Regions from separate parts of the Homo sapiens genome. Here region 1 is linked to region 2. The links are contacts of gene promoters, found by promoter capture Hi-C in human tissues and cell types (Jung and others, 2019). All regions are on one chromosome and are shown on one strand. Each heading gives the region's core, a stretch centred on a gene start or on the middle of the fragment in contact. The rest is flanking DNA. Distances are from core to core; before and after follow the strand shown. Region 1 holds the start of CA11 (carbonic anhydrase 11). Region 2 holds the start of FKRP (fukutin related protein).

Region 1 (3,960 bases), core at 287-2,786, 1.9 Mb before region 2:
TGTCTCTTTCTATGTCTCTCTGTCTCGTTAATGTTTGGTGTCAGGCTGGACAAGGTGGCTCACACCTGTAATCCCAGCACTTTGGGAGGCCAAGGCAGGAGGATCCCTTGAGCCCAGGGGTTCCGGACCAGCCTGGGCATCATAGCAAGACTACATCTCTACAAAAAATAATTTTTAAAAATTAGCCTGGCATGGTGGCATGTGCCTGTAGTCCCAACTATTTGGGAGGCTGAGGTGGAAGGAGTGTTTAAGCCCAGGAGGTCGAGGCTGGATCAAGCCATGATCGCACCACTGCTCTCCAGCCTGGGTGACATTGCAAGGCTTGTCTCAAAAAAGAAAATAAAAGAAGACAATGAGCAGTTTCACTACCATTAGACGGGGTGAAAAATAATAAATAACAACAACAACAGTAATATGTGGTCTCTCTGAGGCTGGGTATGGTTGTTCATGCCTGTAATCTCAATGCTTTGGGAGGCCAAGGTGGGAGGATCCCTTGAGGACAGGAGTTTGAGACTAGCCTGAGCAACATAGCATGACCCCATCTCTTCTCCCCAAATACAAAAATGTGGTGTCTCTCTCTGTCTTTGGATCGCTCTTTCTCTCTTTTTGTCTCTCCCCACCCCATCTGCTGCTTGGTCTCTGAGTTTCTGTCTATCTCTAAGTGTGTGTCTCTATGTCTCCATGTCTGTCTCGCTGCGTCTCTGTATCTCCTTTTCTGCCTCTATCTGTATCTCTCTCATTCATTCCTTCCTCTCTCCCTCCCCCTCCTCCTCTCCCTCCTCCCCCTCCTCTCCCTCCCCCTCCTCTCCCTCCTCCCCCTCCTCCTTCACCTCCTCCCCCTCCTCCTCACTCCTGCCTGGCGGTTTGTTCTTGCCTCTCTAACCTTCTGTCCCTCCGCCCTTCCTCTCCGTATCCATCTCAGGCTCCCTTCCCCTCCCCAGCCTACGCAGATGTGGGTCCTCACCTCCCGCTCTCCGCCTCTGCCCTCCCGGCTCCTCCTCCCCGCCCCTCTCTCCCTCGCCAGGTCTCTGCCTCCCCCTCCAGGCGAGCAGCCCTCACTGCACTTCAGGCTCCTAGGGGATCCCCCGGCCCCGTTAAGGCAGCCCCAGGCAGAGACCCAGTGGAGCCCTGGGGCGGGGAAGGGGGGCTGCGGGCGCTGGGGCGGCTCCAACCTGGGTCCCAGCGAGCAGGGGGACCCTGCATCCGCCAAGGCCGGCGGCCCCCAGCATGGAGACTTCCGAAGCCACTCCCAGCTCCACCTTAAGCGCCCCCCCTTCCCCTTGCTGCGGAGGATGGAAACAGCCTGCTCCCGGCCCCAGGTGTCCCGGCCACCCCCGCCCGCGTGGCCCCAGCGCGGCTGGGAGCCGAGGACCAGCCCCCTACCTCCTTCCGAATCCTGCCCTTTCGCACATCCCACCCCAAGCCAACCCGAGGAGTGTTTGCCGCTATGAGATCACCTGCTCCCCCAGCCCAACAACAAAATTAAATAACACCACGGGAGAGGAGAGAGGGAGGGGGAGGAGGGAGGAAGGGACAAGAGAGAAGAGAGACTGAAACAGGGAGAAGAGGCAGGAGAGGAGGAGGTGGGGAGAGCACGAAGCTGGAGGCCGACACTGAGGGAGGGCGGGAGGAGGTGAAGAAGGAGAGAGGGGAGAAGAGGCAGGAGCTGGAAAGGAGAGAGGGAGGAGGAGGAGGAGATGCGGGATGGAGACCTGGAGTTAGGTGGCTTGGGAGAGCTTAATGAAAAGAGAACGGAGAGGAGGTGTGGGTTAGGAACCAAGAGGTAGCCCTGGGGGCAGCAGAAGGCTGAGAGGAGTAGGAAGATCAGGAGCTAGAGGGAGACTGGAGGGTTCCGGGAAAAGAGCAGAGGAAAGAGGAAAGACACAGAGAGACGGGAGAGAGAAGAAGAGTGGGTTTGAAGGGCGGATCTCAGTCCCTGGCTGCTTTGGCATTTGGGGAACTGGGACTCCCTGTGGGGAGGAGAGGAAAGCTGGAAGTCCTGGAGGGACAGGGTCCCAGAAGGAGGGGACAGAGGAGCTGAGAGAGGGGGGCAGGGCGTTGGGCAGGGGTCCCTCGGAGGCCTCCTGGGGATGGGGGCTGCAGCTCGTCTGAGCGCCCCTCGAGCGCTGGTACTCTGGGCTGCACTGGGGGCAGCAGGTAAGACCTGGGGTTCCCGGGAGGAGCCCCCGAGGGAGGGTGGAGGTGGGGATGCCAAGGAGAGGGATTCAGGCTGCTCTCTTCCCAGCTCACATCGGACCAGCACCTGACCCCGAGGACTGGTGGAGCTACAAGGATAATCTCCAGGGAAACTTCGTGCCAGGTGCCGCCAAGGCGGGGACCCAGGAGTCCGGCCCTCCCGGCGCCTCCTTCTTCAGACTCAGGAACCTGGGTTCCCAGCTCCCTCCTCCCCCCCAGGACCAGGAGTCCCAGCCCCCTCCTCTGTCCCTCAGGAGTCGGGCCAGCTTCTGAACCCCAGGGGCTCACCATGGGACATTATACATGCGCATTTCAAGTAGTGAGTGGGAGTGAGTGGAAGGAAAGTGTGGGGGTGGAGATTATGTGTGTGTTTGCCGGGAGAGGAAGGTCCTGGCTCCTGCTAGGAACCAGAGGCTGGGTGGCCCCGTCCCCCACCTTGTCCAGCCTTCTCTTGCAGCTCCTCTCCCCAACACATTAATAATAATCCAGCTGTGGGATAAGAGCGATTAAAAAAAAGAACTACAACTCCCACGGGGCTCTGGGGCAGGTAGGCAGCAGAGGGGTAGGCTGGTAGCACTGGGGCCTGCTGGGAGTTGTAGTTCCATCTACAGTGGCTTAAGATGGGTTTGATCGGCTGGGCGCGGTGGCTCACGCTTGAAATCCCAGCACTTTAGGAGGCCGAGGTGGGTGGATTACCTGTGGTCAGGAGTTCAAGACCAGCCTGGCCAACTTGGTGAAACCCGTCTCTGCTAAACTTGGAAACTATTCCAAGATTCTTCTAGGACCCAGAATTCTGGATCTGAGCCCAGTCCTCCCTCAGACCCAGGAGTCTAGGTCCCTAGCCCCTCCTCCCCTGGGATCTGGGAGTCCAGACCACAGCCCACTCAGCAGATACCAGCCCTGGGATCCAGTCTCTATTTCTGACTCCTTGTCCTCCTACTCCGACCCCACCCCCAGGGCCTCCTTTCTGGGGCCTGGTGAATGCAGCGTGGAGTCTGTGTGCTGTGGGGAAGCGGCAGAGCCCCGTGGATGTGGAGCTGAAGAGGGTTCTTTATGACCCCTTTCTGCCCCCATTAAGGCTCAGCACTGGAGGAGAGAAGGTAAGGGGCTTGGAGGGAGGAGCTATTGAACCCACTGGGGATGGGCATGAATAGAGGCTGGGGAATGGGGTGCTGAGGTAGGAGAGCAGCCTTGGGGGAGGAGGGGACACCCAGTGGGTGGAGAGGAGGCTGCTTACACTGTAAAATGGATCACCCATTCTTCCCATCCCAAGCATGGTCCCCTAGTCTCCCCATCTCTGCAGAAGCAATGAAAAGCAGAACATTTCCTGTGCCAGGCAGATTTAAAACCTTGATAAGCCTCTCATCTCATAACCACCCCACAAAATGGGTACAATTATTATTATTGTTATTATTATTATTATTATTTTGAGATGGAGTTTTGCTCTTGTTGCCCAGGCTGGAGTGCAATGATGTGATCTCAGCTCACTGCAACCTCCACCTCCCAGGTTCAAGCGATTCTCCTGCCCCAGCCTCCCGAGTAGTTGGGATTACAGGCATGCGCACCATCACGCCCAGCTAATTTTTTGTATTTTTAGCAGAGATGGGTTTTCTCCATTTTGGTCAGGCTGGTCTTGAACTCCTGACCTCAGGTGATCCACCTGCCTCGGCCTCCCAAAGTGCTAGGATTACAGGCATGAGCCACTGCGTCCAGCCAAAATGGGTACAATTATTAACCTTATTATATACATGCAGAAACTGACAC
Region 2 (3,920 bases), core at 245-2,744:
GTGGTGGCGCATGCCTGTAATCCCAGCTACTTGGGAGGGTGAGGCAGGAGAACGGCTTGAACCGGGGAGGCGGAGGTTGTGGTGAGCCGAGATTGGGCCATTGCATCCCAGCCTGGGCAACAAGAGTTACACTCTGTCTCAAAAAAAAAAAAAAAAAAAAAAATCCCCTCCTTTGTTGGGCTTGGTTCCTAGGGTCACTCGAAGGGGGCTGCTCTATTATCATAGTAACCAGGCCTTGAACTTGCCTGTTTCTCACCTTCCGGAGGAAGGTCCAGGCCCTGTAACCATAGCAACTGCCCCTCAGCAGAGCATCTCCTCTAAATAAAAACACCTGGTTAGTTTGGTGCATGGGCCTCCCACGATGGGAAGGGGAAGACGGTTACCATGGTAATGCCAACTAGGTGGCTATGGGGGAGGGGCTGGGGAAGAGGTGCTTCTCTTAGAGATCAGTGTCCTTGGGGCTGGGGTCCTTTCTACCTGAATGCTAGGTGGGGGGGAGGTTGCCATAGTAATCAATGAGGATAGGAGCAGAAGGACCACCACGGACACTTAGGTTACCTTAGCAACCTTCTCCTGGTGCAGAGTCCTAAGAGGTTTGGGGCTCCATAACCACAAAGGTGGAAGCGAGGGGAAGGCTGCTCCCCACCACCTCGCCCCCACCGCTGGGGAAGGGTTACCATGACAACCAACCTGGCCGGCAATCAGAGAGGATGGGGCCACTGCTGGTCGCCCTTTCTCTCAGAGTAAAAGTAATTGTCCAGGAGAGTGGTGTTTGGGTGTGGAAGGGGTAAGGCTCTTTCTCTGGGGCGAAGTGGGAGGAGGGGGGCAGAAAGCGGCCCCTTCCTCAGTCTCACTCCAGCGAGGGGGACCGTCGCGCGGGGCCTGGGTCTCCCTCGCCCTCCTCGGGGCGCGATCTCCCACCCGCCGGCCCCCGCGCGGGCACGCTACCCTTCGGTGTAGACCCGGGTGGGCGAGGCTCGCGCTCGCCGCCGGCCCCCCTTCCTACTGTCCCCCGCCGGGCGCGCGCGCGGTGGTTGCGGCGGGGGAGGGGGGGGGGTGTTGGCGCGGCCGCGCAGGCGCGCGAGGCACAGCGGGCGCGCAGGCCGGCCCCGGGGCCTCCATGATGGAGGAGCGAGCGGCCGCCGCGGTCGCCGCCGCCGCCTCCTCCTGCCGTCCGCTCGGCTCAGGCGCGGGCCCTGGCCCCACTGGGGCGGCCCCGGTCTCCGCCCCTGCCCCCGGGCCGGGCCCGGCAGGTAAGGGAGGCGGCGGCGGAGGCAGCCCCGGGCCCACGGCGGGCCCGGAGCCCCTGAGCCTGCCGGGGATCCTGCACTTTATCCAGCACGAGTGGGCGCGCTTCGAAGCCGAGAAAGCCCGCTGGGAGGCCGAGCGCGCCGAGTTACAGGTGAGCGCTGTCCCGGGACCCCCGACCCCCAACCCGGCCCGGCCCGGCCCGGCCTCACCCGCTGCCGCCGCCGCCGCCATCTTGGAGCAATGGCCGCCGGGACGGCCGGCGGGGGGGCGGGAGGGGACCGCGACGGTCCCGGAGGGCGAGTGAGGGGCCGTCCGAGGGGTGTCCTGAGGGCACTCCGGGGTGGGACGGGACCGGGACGGCCCGAGGTGGGAGTGGAGGGACCGGGGGTGGGAGGGATCACCGGGACCGGCCGAGAGAAAGGGGCGGAGGGACCACAACCAGCTGGGAGTGGGACTGGGACTGGGACTGAGCACGCTGGCCGCGGGGCTCCTGAGAGAGGCGACTCGAGCCCTGGAGGGGAGGCTAAGAGAACTCGGGAAAGGGTGTGGAGAGGAGCTGGAGGGGTCTGGGAGACCTGAGTGGTCTCCTGTGGGAGTAAGCAGAAGCTTGCCGGGCGCCGAGGGACTCCCGACCCCGACCCCGACCATGGCCCTAGCCAGGTGCAGGTTGGAGGTGGGAGCGTCCAAGGGGGGAACTTGGGACCCGCTGGGAAAGAGCGGGTCCAGATGGGGAACCGGGAGGATTTAGGGAGAGGAAGTCGGGAACCTGGGATCGGTGTGTTTCGGGGCGACTGGACGGTGGGCACGGAAGGAGGGCTGTGTAAGGACCCGAGGGGTGGGAGGAGGGTTTCAAGGGGTCCAGGATGAAGGTGTGTGCCTTCCCCTCTGAGGAGAAACTTTGGGGATCCCGGGCATGTGTGGCTGCACAGTGCAGGGAAGGGTTCTTTGGAGTGGAAGTGTGGACAGAGCAGGGAATGTACCCTAGGAGCCTGGATGGGAGAGCTTAAGAGTGGAAGTTCCACTTTGGGGGTGTGCAGGAGTGGGCGCGATGGCACTGAGATGGCACGTGTGTTGTAGGATGTAGGTAGAGAGCCCTGAACTGGAGTGTGGGGTGTTGGGCATGTCCAGTATGGAGGTGAGGGTCCTGGGATGGTGCCAATGAGGACGAGTTAGGGGTTACCCTGGGGTGATGCTTTAGGGGGGAGAATTTTGTAGAGCCCGAAGGCAACATGAGGAGGCATCTCGGAACGGGGGTAGACTGGGGTTGGGGGGAAGGGGATATGTTTGTGGAAGTCTTGGGAAAAGACCCCGTGGTTTTTGGGGTAGCTTGGGACAGGGATGTTGAATGGAAGAGTCTGAGGAGTTGGGCTAGGGTTTGTGACCTCGTGGAGCGTCAGGTCCATTGGCAGTGACTGGAGGACCATGGAGATGTCCGGATTTGAAGGGATCAGGAATGGCCCGCTGGAAGTCTGAAGATTCTTGGACTGGGTTATTATTAGCAGAAATTGTCATTACCTGCTTGTAGCAGCCCACCTTTCCCCTTCCGATTTGCCGTTTGCTATCTAGTAGGAAGCTGGTACCCAAATAAATAGCTGATGAGAATTGTGTCGGTAGGGATGGGGTGCGGTGGCTCACGCCTGTAATCCCAACACTTGGGGAGGTTGAGGTGGGAGAATCCCTTGAGCCCAGGAGTTCGAGGCCAGCCTGGCCAACATAGCAAGACCTCATCTCTACAAAAAAGTACAAAAATTAGCCGGGTGTGGTGACATGCGCCTGTAGTCCCAGCTACTCAGGAGGCTGAGGTGGGAGGATTGCTTAAACCCCGGAGGTTGAGGCTGCGGTGAGCCATGATTGCACCACTGCACTCCAGCCTGGGCAAAAGAGTGAGATCCTGTCTCAAAAAAAAGCATTTTGTTCATAGGATGAGTAAAGACCCTCCAGTAACTCTCCCCCTGCCCTCACTTGTGGTGGCTGAGGCTTGGGGCTGGGATGGGAGCAGAATCCTTATGTAACTGCTCTCACTTCTGTCCCACTCTCTACTTCCGAAGCTCTTTCCCAGCATACATCTCATCAGATCTTCACAATGCCCTGTGATGTAGGCAGAGGCAGTGTCATTACCTCACTCAGCAATAACGGTACCAGCTGCAATTTAGTGAGCACATACCATGTCTGGGGCGCTGTATCAAGTACTGTAGATACGAGCTGTCATTTAATTCTTGCAGCATTCTGGGAGGATAAAGGATATTCCCCCTACCTTTAAAAAAAATCAGGAGAGGAAATGGAGGTTTTGAGAGGGTGATTTATCTAGGATCCCAGCAGATGAGCAGAAGGGCTGGTCTGTGGTGGACCTTTTGTTTATTTATTTATTTATTTATTTATTTTTATTTTTATTTTTTTGAGACAGAGTCTCACTCTGTCACCCAGGGTGGAGTGCAGTGGCATGATCTTGGCTCATTGCAACCACTGCCTCCCAGGTTCAAGCGATTCTCCTGCCTCAGCCTCGCAAGTAGCTGGGATTACAGGTGTGCACCACCACCACGCCTGGCTGATTTTTGTATTTTTAGTAGAGATGGGGTTTTGCCACGTTGGTCAGGCTGGTTTCGAACTCCTGGCCTCAAGAGATCCACCTGCCTCGGCCTCCCAAAGTGCTGGGATTACAGGCATAAGCC

The links. The method cuts DNA at HindIII sites, captures the fragments that hold promoters and counts their contacts. A contact is called where the count stands out against the background at its distance.
Region 1: the fragment with the promoter of CA11 here is called in contact with the fragment with the promoter of FKRP in region 2 in 1 of the 25 tissues and cell types used here (IMR-90 fibroblasts).

What each region holds. Positions count from the first base shown.
Region 1 is chr19:48,643,763-48,647,722 of GRCh38, reverse strand. It overlaps CA11 (carbonic anhydrase 11), which reads left to right and starts at 1,536. Exons shown (of 9, transcript NM_001217.5): 1 at 1,536-2,157; 2 at 2,246-2,320; 3 at 3,154-3,296. The coding sequence starts at 2,091. It also overlaps the pseudogene SEC1P. RefSeq lists silencers at 918-1,327, 1,358-1,547 and enhancers at 1,505-2,205, 2,206-2,906, 2,907-3,608. The HindIII fragment of the contact is 19,792 bases long and covers 1-3,960 here.
Region 2 is chr19:46,743,631-46,747,550 of GRCh38, reverse strand. It overlaps FKRP (fukutin related protein), which reads right to left and starts at 1,494. Exons shown (of 4, transcript NM_024301.5): 1 at 1,461-1,494. It overlaps STRN4 (striatin 4), which reads left to right and starts at 1,101. Exons shown (of 18, transcript NM_013403.3): 1 at 1,101-1,402. The coding sequence starts at 1,121. RefSeq lists silencers at 676-725, 766-865, 906-1,055, 1,066-1,115, 1,326-1,555. The HindIII fragment of the contact is 7,098 bases long and covers 1-3,635 here.